Linked DNA regions of Homo sapiens: all the other regions are linked to region 2. Evidence: promoter capture Hi-C in human tissues and cell types (Jung and others, 2019). All regions are on one chromosome and are shown on one strand. Each heading gives the region's core, a stretch centred on a gene start or on the middle of the fragment in contact. The rest is flanking DNA. Distances are from core to core; before and after follow the strand shown.

What was found. The method cuts DNA at HindIII sites, captures the fragments that hold promoters and counts their contacts. A contact is called where the count stands out against the background at its distance.
Region 1: a contact is called between a fragment that was not itself captured here and the fragment with the promoter of SHISA6 in region 2, in 5 of the 25 tissues and cell types used here (dorsolateral prefrontal cortex, heart right ventricle, hippocampus and 2 more).
Region 3: a fragment that was not itself captured here is called in contact with the fragment with the promoter of SHISA6 in region 2 in 3 of the 25 tissues and cell types used here (dorsolateral prefrontal cortex, lymphoblastoid cells and thymus).

The regions. Positions count from the first base shown.
Region 1 is chr17:11,281,026-11,285,759 of GRCh38, forward strand. The region is part of intron 2 of SHISA6 (shisa family member 6); the gene reads left to right. Among named protein-coding and RNA genes, the nearest start is that of SHISA6, 42 kb to the left of the region's middle. The HindIII fragment of the contact is 3,054 bases long and covers 751-3,804 here.
Region 2 is chr17:11,239,024-11,243,543 of GRCh38, forward strand. It overlaps SHISA6 (shisa family member 6), which reads left to right and starts at 2,190. Exons shown (of 6, transcript NM_207386.4): 1 at 2,190-3,037. The coding sequence starts at 2,400. The HindIII fragment of the contact is 17,378 bases long and covers 1-4,520 here.
Region 3 is chr17:11,299,593-11,304,462 of GRCh38, forward strand. All of the region lies in intron 2 of SHISA6 (shisa family member 6), which reads left to right. Among named protein-coding and RNA genes, the nearest start is that of SHISA6, 61 kb to the left of the region's middle. The HindIII fragment of the contact is 4,566 bases long and covers 1-3,743 here.

The sequences.
Region 1 (4,734 bases), core at 1,028-3,527, 42 kb after region 2:
TACAAACTTGCATAGTCCTATCAGTTTTATTAGCTTTTTCATAGATTTTTAGAATTTTTACAAACAATTATACCATCTGCAAGTAAAGCTAGTTTTACTTCTTCCCTTATTATTTAGATGCCTTTTTTTCTTTTTCTTGCCTTATTGCTCCAGCAAGGATGTATATAATATATCATGTATAACATACAGTCAAAGTGGTGACAACTTATTTTCTAATCTTAGGGGGAAAGCAGTCTTTTGCATTGTGATGTTAGTTCTATGTATTTTGGAGATGCCCTTTATCAAATAGGAAGAGTTTTCATTAATAGCTAGTTTGTGGAGAGTTTTTATGAGGAGTGGATATTGGATTGGGTCAAGTGCATCTTTTGTATCTGTTGAGATGATGATACAGTTTTTCCTTTTAGCCTGTTAACATGGAAAATTACATTGATTGGTTTTCAAATGTTAAACTAACCTTGCATTCCAAAGATAAATCTTACTTGGTCATAATATCTTACCATTTTTATATATTATTATATTTTATTTGCTAAAATTTTGTTAAGAACTTTTTGTGTCTATGTTCATAAAGCATATTGGTCCATAGTTCTGTTTTCTTGTCATTTTGGTTTGGTATCAGAGTAATGCTGACCTCATAAAATATGCCGAAAAATGTTTTTTTCTCTCAATTTTGTGGAAGAATTTTTATAGAACTTTACCAGTGAAGGCATCAATGCCTAGAATTTTTGTTTATTTTTTGTAGGAAGATTTTAAACTACAAGTTCAATTTTTAAAATAAGTGTAAAGCTATTCAGGGTATCTGTTTCTTTCAGGAACAACCAAGCATGACTAAAAAGTACTTGAAAACATCACTGATCCTAGAACATTCTCAAAATATAACTCACACAAAGCAAGAGTGACTTCAGCTGGCTATCTTGCGTTGATGTGACATTTAAGTAAGCAATGGTCAAATGCATAAAAGTTTTTTTTTCTCTTTTAAGAGCAATTTCAATCTTTGCTTGGTCTCTTGGAAGAAAATCCAAAGGGATCTATGATACATTTGTGGCATAGGCCAAATTATCTTTACAAAACCTTTCCTCATCTTCCTCACTCTCAATGCCTTTCATAGCCACAGAAGCTGCTTCCCCAAATACTCCTTTTTCAAAAGAGGTCCCCAAACTTAACCTAAGTGCGTCTGCAGGTGTTACCACCTCTCTTTACTATGTAAATCAGCAGACACTCTTGCTCTGCATAGTTCTCTTATTCACTTGTTGCCCAGATTTTTAACATCAGAGTAGAGTTCTAGAGGCGATTCAACAAGATCGAAAGTTCTTTCTCCATAGAAGGTAGGGAAGGGGCAAGAGAGCAAAGGATTTGGACTAGATACGTGGTATTTCTTCTTTTTTTTTTTTAATACTTTAAGTTCTGGGGTACCTGTGCACAACATGCAGGTTTGATATATAGGTATACATGTGCCATGTTGGTTTGCTGCACCCATCAACTCATCATTTACATTAGGTATTTCTCCTAATGCTATCCCTCCCCCAGTCCCCCACCTGCCGACAGGCCCCAGTGTGTGGTGTTCCCAGCCCTGTGTTCAAGTGTTCTCATTGTTCAATTCCCACCTATGAGTGAGAACATGCGGTATTTGGTTTTCTGTCCTTGTGATAGTTTGCTGAGAATGCTGGTTTCCAGCTTCATCCAGATACATGGTATTCCATCTGCTATCACACTGCATATTCACCATTGTAACCCGGAGAGACAAATGAATAAGCATCTGTCCAGCCCCAACCCAGAGGGGCAGCTGCCAAGCAGCAAGTGGGAGGAGGAGCCCTCACTTAGACTTGAGCCTGCAAACTGGGATTTAGATGGAATCATTCACTCCAATTTTCCCCAAAACCACATTCCACATTCAGGTTTATAGAGTGGAGAGCTCAAAATAGGTTTACATTAAAAAACAGTCCTGCTGTTTGTATATGATTTGCTCCAGGATAGTTTCATTGATCTAGCGAAGTGTAAAGATCATTGAATTTGGAGCACCAGACCTAGATATTGTCCCAACCCAATCTTCAAGTTTTTCATTTGATAAGTGAAGTCATAATCTCTTAACTTCGCAGGATTCAACTCTATTAAGTGTGCCCACATGAATATTAACTGATACTTACTGCTCTTTTAGACAAAATATGCAATAAATTGCATTTATATAGCACTCTTTGAAAGCAACTATATATGTACATAGTTTGTAAATGTATATATGTATCAGTTAATCATCATATGAATCTATTGAAGAAGAAGTAATTGTTTCCATTTAATAGGTGATTCTGTAAGGAGATTCAGGAGGTTTAAGCAATTTGTCTACCATTGCACACCAGTGGATATTAAAACCAAAACTTCAACTCAAGTTTTCTGATTCAAGGTCTGATTTTCTTTCTATTTCTCCATCCTGCCTCTATTAAAGCACAGCCACTTGTCTACTACAGAATTAAAATTAAGTGGGTCTAAAGCCTCATGTTGAATAAATGCATGCACGTGCTAATTTTTCTGTTCTTTTGAATCTGAATTAAGGAAAATAAGCCAATTACATTAAAGTGGTGTCAGCAGATACTGCACAAAGCTTATATATAACCCTAGCACCATGCCATATGAACTCAGTAAATATTTTCTAATGCATAGATGTCATGTAACGTTGCAGATGCCAGCCACCTTTATTGTTGGAACAGGGAAGAAGCATATAATGAAAGTAAGGTGCAGTTTTGGATTTCAAGAGCAGAAAACTTTAGTGACTAATGGGAAAATTCCAGTTCTGTTCTGTGCTGTGGAGAAACTTATCTCTTATATTGCTTCTATTGCTATTAAGGAGGCATATTGGAAAATAATCTATAGAATTGTTTAGCTGAAGCTTTTTGTGTGCTTTGCGCTTCAGACTTGATAGTTTTTTTGGTAGGTTGTTGTTCCCCAGTTCCTTTTTAGTTCTCCTAAGTTTTCCTTGTTTGGAAATTCTTACACTTCACAGGAAAGCCTCCATTAGAAAACTGACTCTAATACTACTACCTCAAAACCACACACACAGACATACACACATTTACATGCACTTGTACAAACACGTAGGCATGCACAATCCTCCCCCTACCTCATCTAGTAAAAAGTAAGGAAATGATTCATATCATTTGGGATTATGTTCAACTTCAAGTAACAGAAAACTGAAGACTTTATTTGGCTTAACCAAATAAAGGTTGATTTTCTCACCTAGTCAAAAGTCCCAAAGTAGGCAATTTCTGGAGTTGGTTTAGTTGCTCAGCAACACCTTCAGAGAACCAGATGTTTTCCATCTTCTCTTCCATCATCCTTACAGGGTTGGCTTCCATCTTTATGCTTGTTACCTCATGATTGCAACATGGCTGCCCGAGCTCCAGGCTTTTTATCTACATTCCAGGCAACAGGAATGGAGAAGGGCAGTGTCAGTGACCCTCATTTAGCTGCACATATATTGCTGCCCCAAATAATGTGGAATTTATTGGCAGGGAAGGAGGGAGACAAATTGACTACTAGGTAGGTAATTCACAGTGTCTGCCCCATGTTTTTAGTGCATTTTCTTCTCTCTCTGTATGGGTTCAAATAGGAGTTCCTCATTGAGGAATGGCTTCTGGTTATGTGCTCATTTGAACAAAGTTCTCTATAATAAAATAATTCAGATGTCCCTTGGAATTCATCCTGTTTTTTAATGATTCTATTGATGCTGTATTAGACTTCTATAGCACTTTATATTTTCACTGGCATGAATCCTACTTAAACTTTGCAGCAGTCATGAGATACAGTTCTTATGGCTGGGACCAAAGCAATTTAGTGATATGTTCAACCCAGATCCTCCTTGTCCAGGGCTCCATTCCTCTGTCCACCTCTACTTCTTCTAACCACAGTTGATCTGTTTCCCCAGGATGACTCAATTCTTTGGTTTCTTAACTGAGCCCTCTCCAGCTGGCCCTGTGGCCTGCTACTCAGCTCAGGATGCTAAACACGGGCCATCTTGCTAACACATGTGTCTTTTGGCTGATATGAAATCATCAAAGGCAAAACCCTGGAAAATATTCACTGACTCCAAGGTTTAATTGATATATGTGCTTCTATACACACATGCACCCCAGAAGTAAGTCTTCCTGGATGAGGCTCTGCAGTTAGGGTGTCTGCTTATTCCAGTTTGATCTGAGGAACTTCAAATGAGTTGTTAGAAGTCTGAGTTGGGATTAGGTTTGCACATCCCATTTGGTGTGTCAGACAGACAGGGATGGATTCCTCATTCTGAGACTTGGAGGTGTTGCATGATTTTTGCAGGAGTTGCTGCCGTTTGCTTTCTTCCCTTCAGCTTGTTGCAAATGATACATCTGGGGGACATATCCCACCACCCCTCAATCCTTGAGAGGAGCAAATCTTGCCTTGCAGTTGGGAAAAGTTTTGTCTTAAAAAGGGGAGAAGGGGTGTCATTTTATTGTTTGAAATAATGATTTTGACACCTTTTAAAAAATGAATCCTACTGACAGTTTGGAGGCCTTTGTGGAATTAATCAAGTTTGATCCAATATGCATTTAATGAGAGCTTACTTTGAGCGAGGGACTGATGGGACAGGAATCAATTTCCCTTTTTGCCCCTGGGCTTGTACAGACTATGCGCCCATGCTGCAGAGGTCTGTGTTTACTATGAAAACCTGTGGTCAAGACACAGATTAGCGTAGCTGGGAAAGGGCTCTTGTGCACTTTGTAGAAG
Region 2 (4,520 bases), core at 940-3,439:
CCCATCTGTCCCCTTGCAGGCCTAGGCTGGGTGCCTGTCTTCTGCTCTCAGAGCACCCTGCCCGCCTTTATCATGAGACGTAACCTTGCCATGTGGAAATCATTTGTTTATCTGTCTCCCTAATGGTCTACAAGGTCCCCCTCCTTGAGGAAAGGGACTCTCTTATTCATTCTGCTGGCAGGGAGTAGGCACTAAACAAATGTTTGTTGGACAGAATCTTTAAGAAGAAGGTGGCAACTGAGAAGTTAAGGGAACGGGAGGAAGTGCAGAGGAAGAGGGAGGGAATGGAGACAGTAGCAAGTGGGGAGCTGCGGGGATAGTCTGTGCACCGCCCCCCACCCCACCCCCTAGTCAATATCAGGATCTCCCTCTTGTGTCTTGGAGTCTGAGTTCGAGCTCTAATATATCCATTCCACGGTTCCCAAAAGAGGAACTCTTCTGTTCCTGGATAGGGATCCCTTGTTTAGGTCACACATGAGTGGGACTGAACAGAAAGTCTCAGGGAAAATTCTCTACCGCCCTCGCTCTGACAGCCTGTTCCCTGCCTTCAGTTCCCTGCCTTCAACCAAAGCACGCTGGTCACGCAGGCAGAATCTTGGCCTTGGCCATCGCTTTTTGTTCTCAGTTCCCCCTACCTCCTCCAAGGACACACGCCAAGGATGGTACTATGATTCTCTTTTGGGATGGCCTCGTAGCTGTGAAAGTTAGACTCAGGCCTCCTTTCCACAGACCCAGACACGCAACTACCCCGGAAAGCACCCCCGCCCTGCACCCCCATCCTCCTCACCTCCCATAGGAGCTGCAGCACAGAGATTTCAACACAGGGGTTACAAAGCTGAGTCTCAGAGGTTCAGATAGCTTTCTAATGGCCTCGAGGCTCCGCGGGGAAAAAAAAAAGTATAGCAAAGAGTTGCCATCCAGTCCTGGGGCTGTCTAGCGCCTTTATGCGTAGTGGGTACGGGGTTGGGGAAAGAGTGACCAAGGGGAAGAGAGTGTAGGCTCAGCTCACGGGTCGCCCAACAGCCTCAGACAAGCCACTTGACCCCTGGACTCAGTTTGGGAACCTGTAGCAATGGGTTTGACCTCTTCTCCTGGCTGCGAGTATCACCACTAGGGAGAGGCAAAGGCTTGCAGAAACCCCAACTCCCGCTCAGGCAGCGCGCTGCCCCGGGCTCCGGTAGGGTGGGGACTGGTCGCGAAGGCTAGAGAAGGCAATGGCAGGGGAGGTCAGTCCCTGCCGCGGGCCGGCTGCAGAGCGGACGTTCCGCCCTGCTCCCGGCCCCCTCTTCGCCCGCCGGGTTCGCCGTGTCGAATAACTGCTGTCCGGAGCTTTCGTGACGCGGAGCTTCAACTGCTGCGATCCGGAAGAAGCGAAAAGGAGTCCCCCCCGCCCCGCACCCTGAGCGCCCGGGCGTGCAAACGTGGGTGGCGGAGAGCGGCTGCCCTCCCCTCCCCTGTCCCCCCTCCCCTCGCGGCGCTCCCGTGTGTGCGGGTGTGTGAGTGCGTGTGTCTCCCTCGCTCACTCTCGCACACGTTCCGGCACTAGTGCAGGCGGCGAGCCGGCGGCTCTCCGCTCGCTCGCTCCGGCAGCTGCGTTCCCGCCTCGCCCCGCCGCCGCCGCCGCCGCCGCCGCCGCCGCCTCTGCAGTCGCAGCCGGGCATGGTGAGTGAGTGAGGTCCAGCCGCCGCGCGCTCTCCCGGCTCGCCGCCGGACCCCAGCCTCAACCGGCTCCGTCCCAGGGAGCCAGCCTGCGGCGGGAGCGCGCTGCGGGGCCGGGCGGCTGGGGGACCCGGGCGGCCGAGCTGCGCCTGGAGGGGCGGCCCGTGCGCTCTCGGTTCCAGGCGCGCAGGGCCGCGGGACCCCGTCTTGGGAGCGGGCTCTACGCCCCTCCCGGCTCCGAGTCTCTCTCCTCGAGGGCTGCGCGCACCCTCCCCGCCCGCCTGCCCGCGGTTCTCCTCCTGCTCCCGGAGCGCCAGTCGCCCCACCCCGTGACCGGCTCCCCGTCTTGTCCCGCAGGACCCGCCCGGACGGGACCACGCCGCCGCCGCCGCCGCCGCCGCCCGGAGCCGCGCTTCGGGTCCTGCCTGAGCCGAGCCGCGCGCGGGGCCGCAGTCACCGCCGGCGGGGGATGGGGCTGCCCAGGAGGCGCGCCGAGCCCGCAGGGGGAGCGCGGAGCCGGCGCGCAGCCTGAGAGCCCGAGCAGCCCGCGCCGGGCCGGTCCGTGCGCACCGCGCGCCGCCGCCGCCACTGCCGCCCGCGCCTCGATGGCGCCATCGCCCCGGAGCCGCTGACCGCTCAGCGCCTCCAGCCCGGCCCGCGCGGCGGGTCCTCCGAGCCCGGCCCGCCGGGGGAGCGGCCTGCCGCGGAAGCCTCCCCGCGCCCTCCCGCCCGGCCCCGCCATGGCGCTGCGGCGCCTCCTGCTGCTGCTGCTGCTCTCGCTGGAGTCCCTGGACCTGCTGCCCAGCGTCCACGGAGCCCGCGGCCGCGCCGCCAACCGGACCCTGAGTGCAGGCGGCGCTGCCGTCGGGGGCCGGAGGGCCGGGGGCGCCCTGGCACGGGGCGGCCGCGAGCTGAACGGCACCGCCCGGGCGCCCGGAATCCCGGAGGCGGGAAGCCGGCGGGGGCAGCCCGCGGCGGCTGTGGCGGCGGCGGCCAGCGCGGCCGTCACCTACGAGACGTGCTGGGGCTACTACGACGTGAGCGGCCAGTACGACAAGGAGTTCGAGTGTAACAACAGCGAGAGCGGCTACCTGTACTGCTGCGGTACCTGCTACTACCGCTTCTGCTGCAAGAAGCGCCACGAGAAGCTGGACCAGCGCCAGTGCACCAACTACCAGAGCCCGGTGTGGGTACAGACGCCCAGCACCAAGGTGGTGTCGCCGGGGCCCGAGAACAAGTACGACCCGGAGAAGGACAAGACCAACTTCACCGTCTACATCACCTGCGGGGTGATCGCCTTCGTCATCGTGGCCGGCGTCTTCGCCAAGGTCTCCTACGACAAGGCCCACCGCCCTCCACGGGAGATGAACATCCACAGGTGAGAGCGCCGCGTGCCGCGCGCCCCGGTCTCCCCGCGGCCTCACCCTCTCAGCTTGCTTCCCCTGTCCTCTTCACTCTCGGCATCATCACACCTCCCCAGGCCCTCTAGTCATTTCCACCATCGCTCCTTTTGCATGCAATAAATCAGGGTCTTCTTGTGCCCCCTCCTCCATTTCTTCAGAACCGGGAATGCATGCTTTGGTGGTAGGGGGATTTACAAGGCAGAGTAAGAATTGGTTGAGTGCATGAAGTTCCAAGTGTAAGAATGTTACAAATTCTGTAATCGTGGATGAGGATCCAGGGTTCTGCTTTCCTGGCATGAGGGCACTTTGGTGTAGGTTCTTAATGGCATTTAGTTTTTTGAGTCAAATCAGAGTGTCATCTTCAATATAGGAAACTGACCAATGTTGGAACCTTACTGAAAGCGGTACCAAGTGGCTTAGGGTCAACTGAGATGTTCTCGTACATTAGGAATTGGGGTTTTATAGAAAGGATGCCTCCTGCCGGAAGTAGGGATAAAGATTTCTCCATTCCATGTTGACCAAGCACAGATGGTGTCTCCTCATTGCATCCTGCGGAGTGGGATGTTTATCTTTCCTGCTGAGACTAGAGGACTCGTTCTTTGAAACCCTGTAGGCAGAACTCTGAGTTAACAGTACTCGCCTGTGTTAAACCTGGTGGGGCATCTTTCACTGCTTACGTTCGAAAGACAGTGGGAGCTGCCTCCTACCAAAACTTACGCCAAGAGCTCAAACTATGGCAGTCCCTGGTTGCACGCTGAATGCTGCCCCGACGCACCATCTTGCCCCCCAGTGAGCCCTTGGGGAAGTCAAAGCCAAGGGGATGACAGAAACCCAGCCTCCCCTTAGAACTCTAGGAATGACACACCCAGAGGATGCAGAGTTAGCTCGGCTTCCTGTCCCCTCATGTTGATGGATGGCTGGACATGGTGCAAGAGTCCTCTCAGGGAACAAACCCTGCCCCGGGAGATGCCTCCATTTCTGTTGCATGGTGTGGGCACTGCCCTAGTCACCATGAGCACCCCCCAGACCACTGCTTGTCAGTCAGTCCTGCAGGCCCCCACACTGACCCATTCACCTTGAGCTCTTCTCTGCGTCCTGCTTGTTATTCTTACCACCTGAAAACCGCCTTCCTCGCTGCTGTGCACATTAATCACCCCTGCCTTGCTGAAGAGAGAGAAAGGCAGATAGAAATTTCTAGGCATGTTAAAAGAGCTGATTTTTTTTTTCTGCTTGATACTGTGGGTGTTGAGAGAAATGATACTCCCTGGAAGGTTTTATTGAGTCAAATCCACAAAGGGTGGGTACCTCAAACTCGCGTGCTGGAATTGGAGTGATTCCAAAAGGAGACCCTTTTATAAGGCTCTGTCACCCTGAGGTGCCTCCACCCTGTCTTCCACTTGCACCTCATGTCTCAGATAGTGCAGTAAGTATCCTCTTGTGTGAGAAACAGCCTGTGGT
Region 3 (4,870 bases), core at 211-2,710, 60 kb after region 2:
GGGGAGAATCGATTTCCTTGCCTGTTCCAGCTTCTAGAGGCCATATGCATTCATTGGCTTACGGTCCTTTCCTGCATCTTCAAAGTGCATCACTCCAATCTCTGTTTTCCCCATCCCATCACCTTCTCTCTCTGACTCTGACCAACCTGTGTCCACTTATAAGGATCCCGTGTGGGCCTACCCACACAATCCAGGGTGGTCTCCTCATCTCAAGAACCTTAACTTGATCCCACTTGCAAGGTTCCTTTTGCCATGAAAAGCAACACCTTCAGGTCAGGTGCGGTGGCTCACGTCTGTAATCTCAGCACTTTGGGAGGCTGAGGTGGGCAGATCACGAGGTAAGGAGATCAAGACCATCCTGGCTAACACAGTGAAACCCTATCTCTACTAAAAATACAAAATATTAGCTGGGCGTGGTGGCATGTGCCTGTAGTCCCAGCTACTTGGGAGGCTGAGGCAGGAGAATCGCTTGAACCTGGGAGGTGGAGGTTGCAGTGAGCTGAGATCACGCCACTGCACTCCAGCTTGTGCGACAGAGCAAGACTCCATCTTAAAACAAAAAAAAAAAAAAAAGAAAAACAAGAAAAAAGAAAAAAAGAAAGGCAACACCTTCACAGGTTTAAGGACTGGGATGTGGATATCTTTGGGAGGCATTTTTCTGTTTACCACAATACCCGAAGCATGAGTTCCCAACCAGTGTAGACCTGGGCCCTGGGCACCACTGTGCCGTACTGACTTAGGATGGGCAAACATGGGGCATGCAAGCCACTGCCCTTCTCTTCGTGTCCATGGAGCACTGGCAACTGACTGCAGCCCTCTTTCCTTCAGAATCCGAGTGCATCTTAGAATCCTTCTCAACACTGTTTTCCAGGCAGCCCTGTCAGTTGACCCGAACTGTCAGGCACGATGAAGCCTGTGGGCCATTTTCAGTTTTGATCTCTAAGTTTTCATCTGGGTGTCACATCCAAGACACCCGTGGCACCAGTGAGCTTTTAGAGAGTGAGTTGTGGCAAGCCTGTGTGCCCTTCTTGGGAGAGAATTCCCTTTTTGCCAGTTTAGGACTTTTTTTTCTTTTTCTTTTTTTTTTTTTTTGTAATTCAGTGACTGTGGGTTTAAATATTACCCCTTCATAAGAGATGGCTCTAGGAAAAACAGGCTTCTTATTTCAATTCCCCGGCATACTGGCCAGGAACCTGGCTCTTTGTGAAATGCTAGTTGATAATTTCAGTTTGGGTGGTAGGGAAGGGAGGTGGAGCACATGGGGGAACACAGCCCCACCCTCCCGCCCCATCTGCTTGTGCTTCAAGAACATACTGTAATTGTTCAGCCCTGTATGGGGTGGGGGGAGAGAAAATCACAACATGTTCACACAGAAGAGAAAACAAACAGCCTTTAATACCAGTCAAGGGAAACACGTTTAAAGAGTTTTTTTGCAAGGCCTGAAGCAAAAGAACTTCTCCAGTACAGCTGCGTGGAGTCCCGTGCTCAGCTTCACTGTGGGCCTTCCACGTCTAGCTGTCAGAGCCTCTCTGCCTGTGCTGAGCCCGGTAGCAGACCCCTTTAATGCAGCTGGAACCCTCACTAGTTTTCTTCCTCCCTAACAGCCTATGATGTAGTGGTGGGTACTGGGGTGGGGAGCATTGGACCCTCAAGTTGAAGTTGCACTGTTTATCTCCTGGGTGCGTTGCAGCCCCCAGGACCATTAATTACACATTCTCCAGGCATCAAATTCCCCAGGTGGGTAAATAATTCCATTGCAATAAGGGGATGGTACATTGACCTTTATTTGTCTTTCTAATTTTCCACTTCTTTGGGGGCTCCGGGCTTTGCTAGGGCCTAATGAGCTCTAGTCCAAATGATTGCAGCACTTTGGGTCAGTATCTTCCTAAATTCACTCCTTTGCAAAGGTGCTGACCAGAGAACTGTGATAAAGGCTTTCCCCACTCTGGTCACACCGTGCATGAATGAGTCTTTCTCTTCCAGGCGTCCTTCAGTCAACCTCCTTGCCGTTCCCCTCCTTCCTGCCTCCTCCAGCCAGAGGCAGCTTCCAGAAAACTTCCCACTCTTACTGCATTTCCTATGAACGTTCCTGCAATCTAGGTGTGTCCTTGTGGATCCCCAAGTCAATGTCATGCCGGTAGAAAGGATGGGAATGCAGGTGTGACTCCTTCAAGGAGAGATTTCTCATAAGGGGAAACTGCCAGCTGTAGGGGTCCTCTCCCTTTGCATGGTTTTGGCTTTAGGAGCCTTGTATTCGTCCGTTTTCATACTGCTGATAAAGACATACCAGAGACTGGGAAGAGAAAGAGGTTCAGTTGGACTTACAGTTCCACATGGCTGGGAAGGCCTCAGAATCATGGTGGGAGGCAAAAGGCACTTCTTACATGGCGGCGGCAAGAGAAAATGAGGAAAAAGCAAAAACGGAAACCCCTGATAAACCCACCAGATCTTGTGAGACTTATTCACTATTATGAGAATAGCACAGGAAAGACCGGCCCCCATGATTCAGTTACCTCCCCTCCGGGCCCCTCCCACAACACATGGGAATTCTTGGAGACACAATTCAAATTGAGATTTGGGTGGGGGCACAGCCAAACCATATCAGGCCTAGAGCTTAACTTTAGGCCTCTGTTGGAGTTTTCTGAAAGAATTCAAATTTTGTCAGGCTCAGTTTCCTGACAGCAAAATTTGAGGAGTTGTAGAGAGTGAAATAGACCACAAAATGTTATGCTGGAAGGAACCTCCTAAGTTTGTCCAGTATAAAGTTCTTATTCTGCACATGAGGAATTTGCTCTTAGGTCCAGCAGCCAGAAAGTGGCTGACCTGTGTCCAGAATCCAGGTCCCAGGACATCCAGATCTTTTCTCAGCTCATTTTTTACGTGGTCACCTATGCATCTGCCTGTATTTTATTGCAATAAGGGGATGGTACATCTGGTACATGAACGTGCCAGAAACAGGCAAGCATTTCCTTGCCAGGCCTAAGCTTTTGAAAAGCAAGAGAGAGAGGGAGAGAAGCAGATGTTGAGGAAATAGCCTGAGTGCATTGGTGGCCTCTGGAACATCTGGACCAGTCCAAGCCGTCTTTTGCTTCCAACATTGGAAGTCCTGCTTAGGTCCTAGCAGGAAGATGATTTGTGATCCAACCATTTCACATATAGGGCCAAGAGGGCAGACCCGAAGGGTTGCAGCTCTCAGCAACAGCCCTACCCAGGGACCGAGGTTGCTATAGAAACAATATGGGGGTGGGGGAAAAAGCAGAGAGTCATCCAGGTGGAGAGGAGGGGGGCGTTTGAAATGAGAGGTTTCTAGATGAAACAGACTTCCTGCAGGTTCTGCTGGAGTTTCATTGAAGGCTGATGGCTTTGTCATTTCCCATCAAGCTGGGCTGTAGCATGGGGTGTGGAGGGCTCCTGGGAAAGAAAGACGTCTGACTGAGTAGTGTGATGACGCCCCCAACCCAGTGCAGTGCAGTGCAGTGAGCAGCCTATGTGCTTGTATGATTGTGTGATACATACACAATTGTGATTACCTGTGTGTGTGTACGTATCAGTGTGTGATTTTGTGTGTGATTACCAGTGTAGTTATGTTTGAGTGTGTGTGCTTGTGTGGTTTTGTGTGTGTGTGTGTGTAAGATTCAGTGTGATTGTGAGTGTGGTTGTGTGATTGTGGTTGTGAGTATGTGTGTGGTTTTATGTGCAGTTGTATGGTTGTGTGTATAGTTGTGAATGTATGTGATTGGTTATGTGTGGTCGTGAGTATGGTTGTGTGTGGTGTTTTGTGCATGATTCTGAGTGTGGTTGTGTGTGTGATTGTGTCTGGTTGTGAGCATGTGTGTGTGGTTTTGTGTGCAGTTGTATGGCTGTATGTGTGGTTGTGTGTGAATATATGTGATCACTTGTGTGTGACTGTGAGCATGGTTGAGTGTGTGATTGTGTGGTTGTGTGTATGTGAGAGTGTGATCTTCTCTGATGCTGCCATGAGGTGACGGGATTTTTTACCTGTAGGAGAGCCACACAGAAAAAGGCCACATGCAGAAGGCTGAGCCTGGGGAGCCATCTCCAGCATACAGAGGACAAGGGAGCCATCAGGCCTGGTGCTCTCAAGCCCCCAGTCCCAGTTGGCCATGCGTGTCACTCAAAGACCCTTCTCTGCCCTCAATACCTGCAGCACAAAAGGTCATAATAAAAGCTCGTTGTAAGGATGACTCCTCAGAGGAGTGTGCTGAGTTGGGGGTAAATGTGGGGATGGGGACATGCCATCCCTGCTTCTGTGTTTCCTCCAGTTGTGTTTCTAGGGTGGGCCTGAGGTGGGTACAGCAGTGGAAGGGCAGGTGCCCGAGAAGAGGCCATGTTTCCAGCGTGCCAAAAGCTGCAGGGCCTGACCGGCTCCATATCCAGGAGCAGATGTGAGGATCCCCAGGCCTCACTGTTTCTGCACAGACGAATGGAGCAGAAGGCCATATCAGGAAGGCCTTCTAGGATAGAAGCCCTTTCCTGGGAAGCTTTGGGTAGTTTGCACCTTTCCTGGTGAGCGATAGGGTCCCCAGTGGGTAACGAGGGCCTGACTGGCCAAGAGGCCCCTTTGCTCTAGGGGAGCTGCCCTGCTCCAGTGAGAGGGGCCCTGGAGGGGTCAGTGCCTGGAGTTGGACGAAGGCACTGGGGAGGTGGCCGGGTGGCAGTGTGAAGTGGTGCGAACAGGAAGATGTGAGCTTCACGAGCAGAGGGAGGATGATCACACAGCATCTCACGTCCTAGGCTCAAGATCTACCTTTTCCTCCTACAGCTTTGATCTCAACACCTGCAGTCAAAAGATGACGGCCCCTGCTTGAGCCTTGCTCTGTGAGGTGGGGAGGAATGATGCCTGGGATGC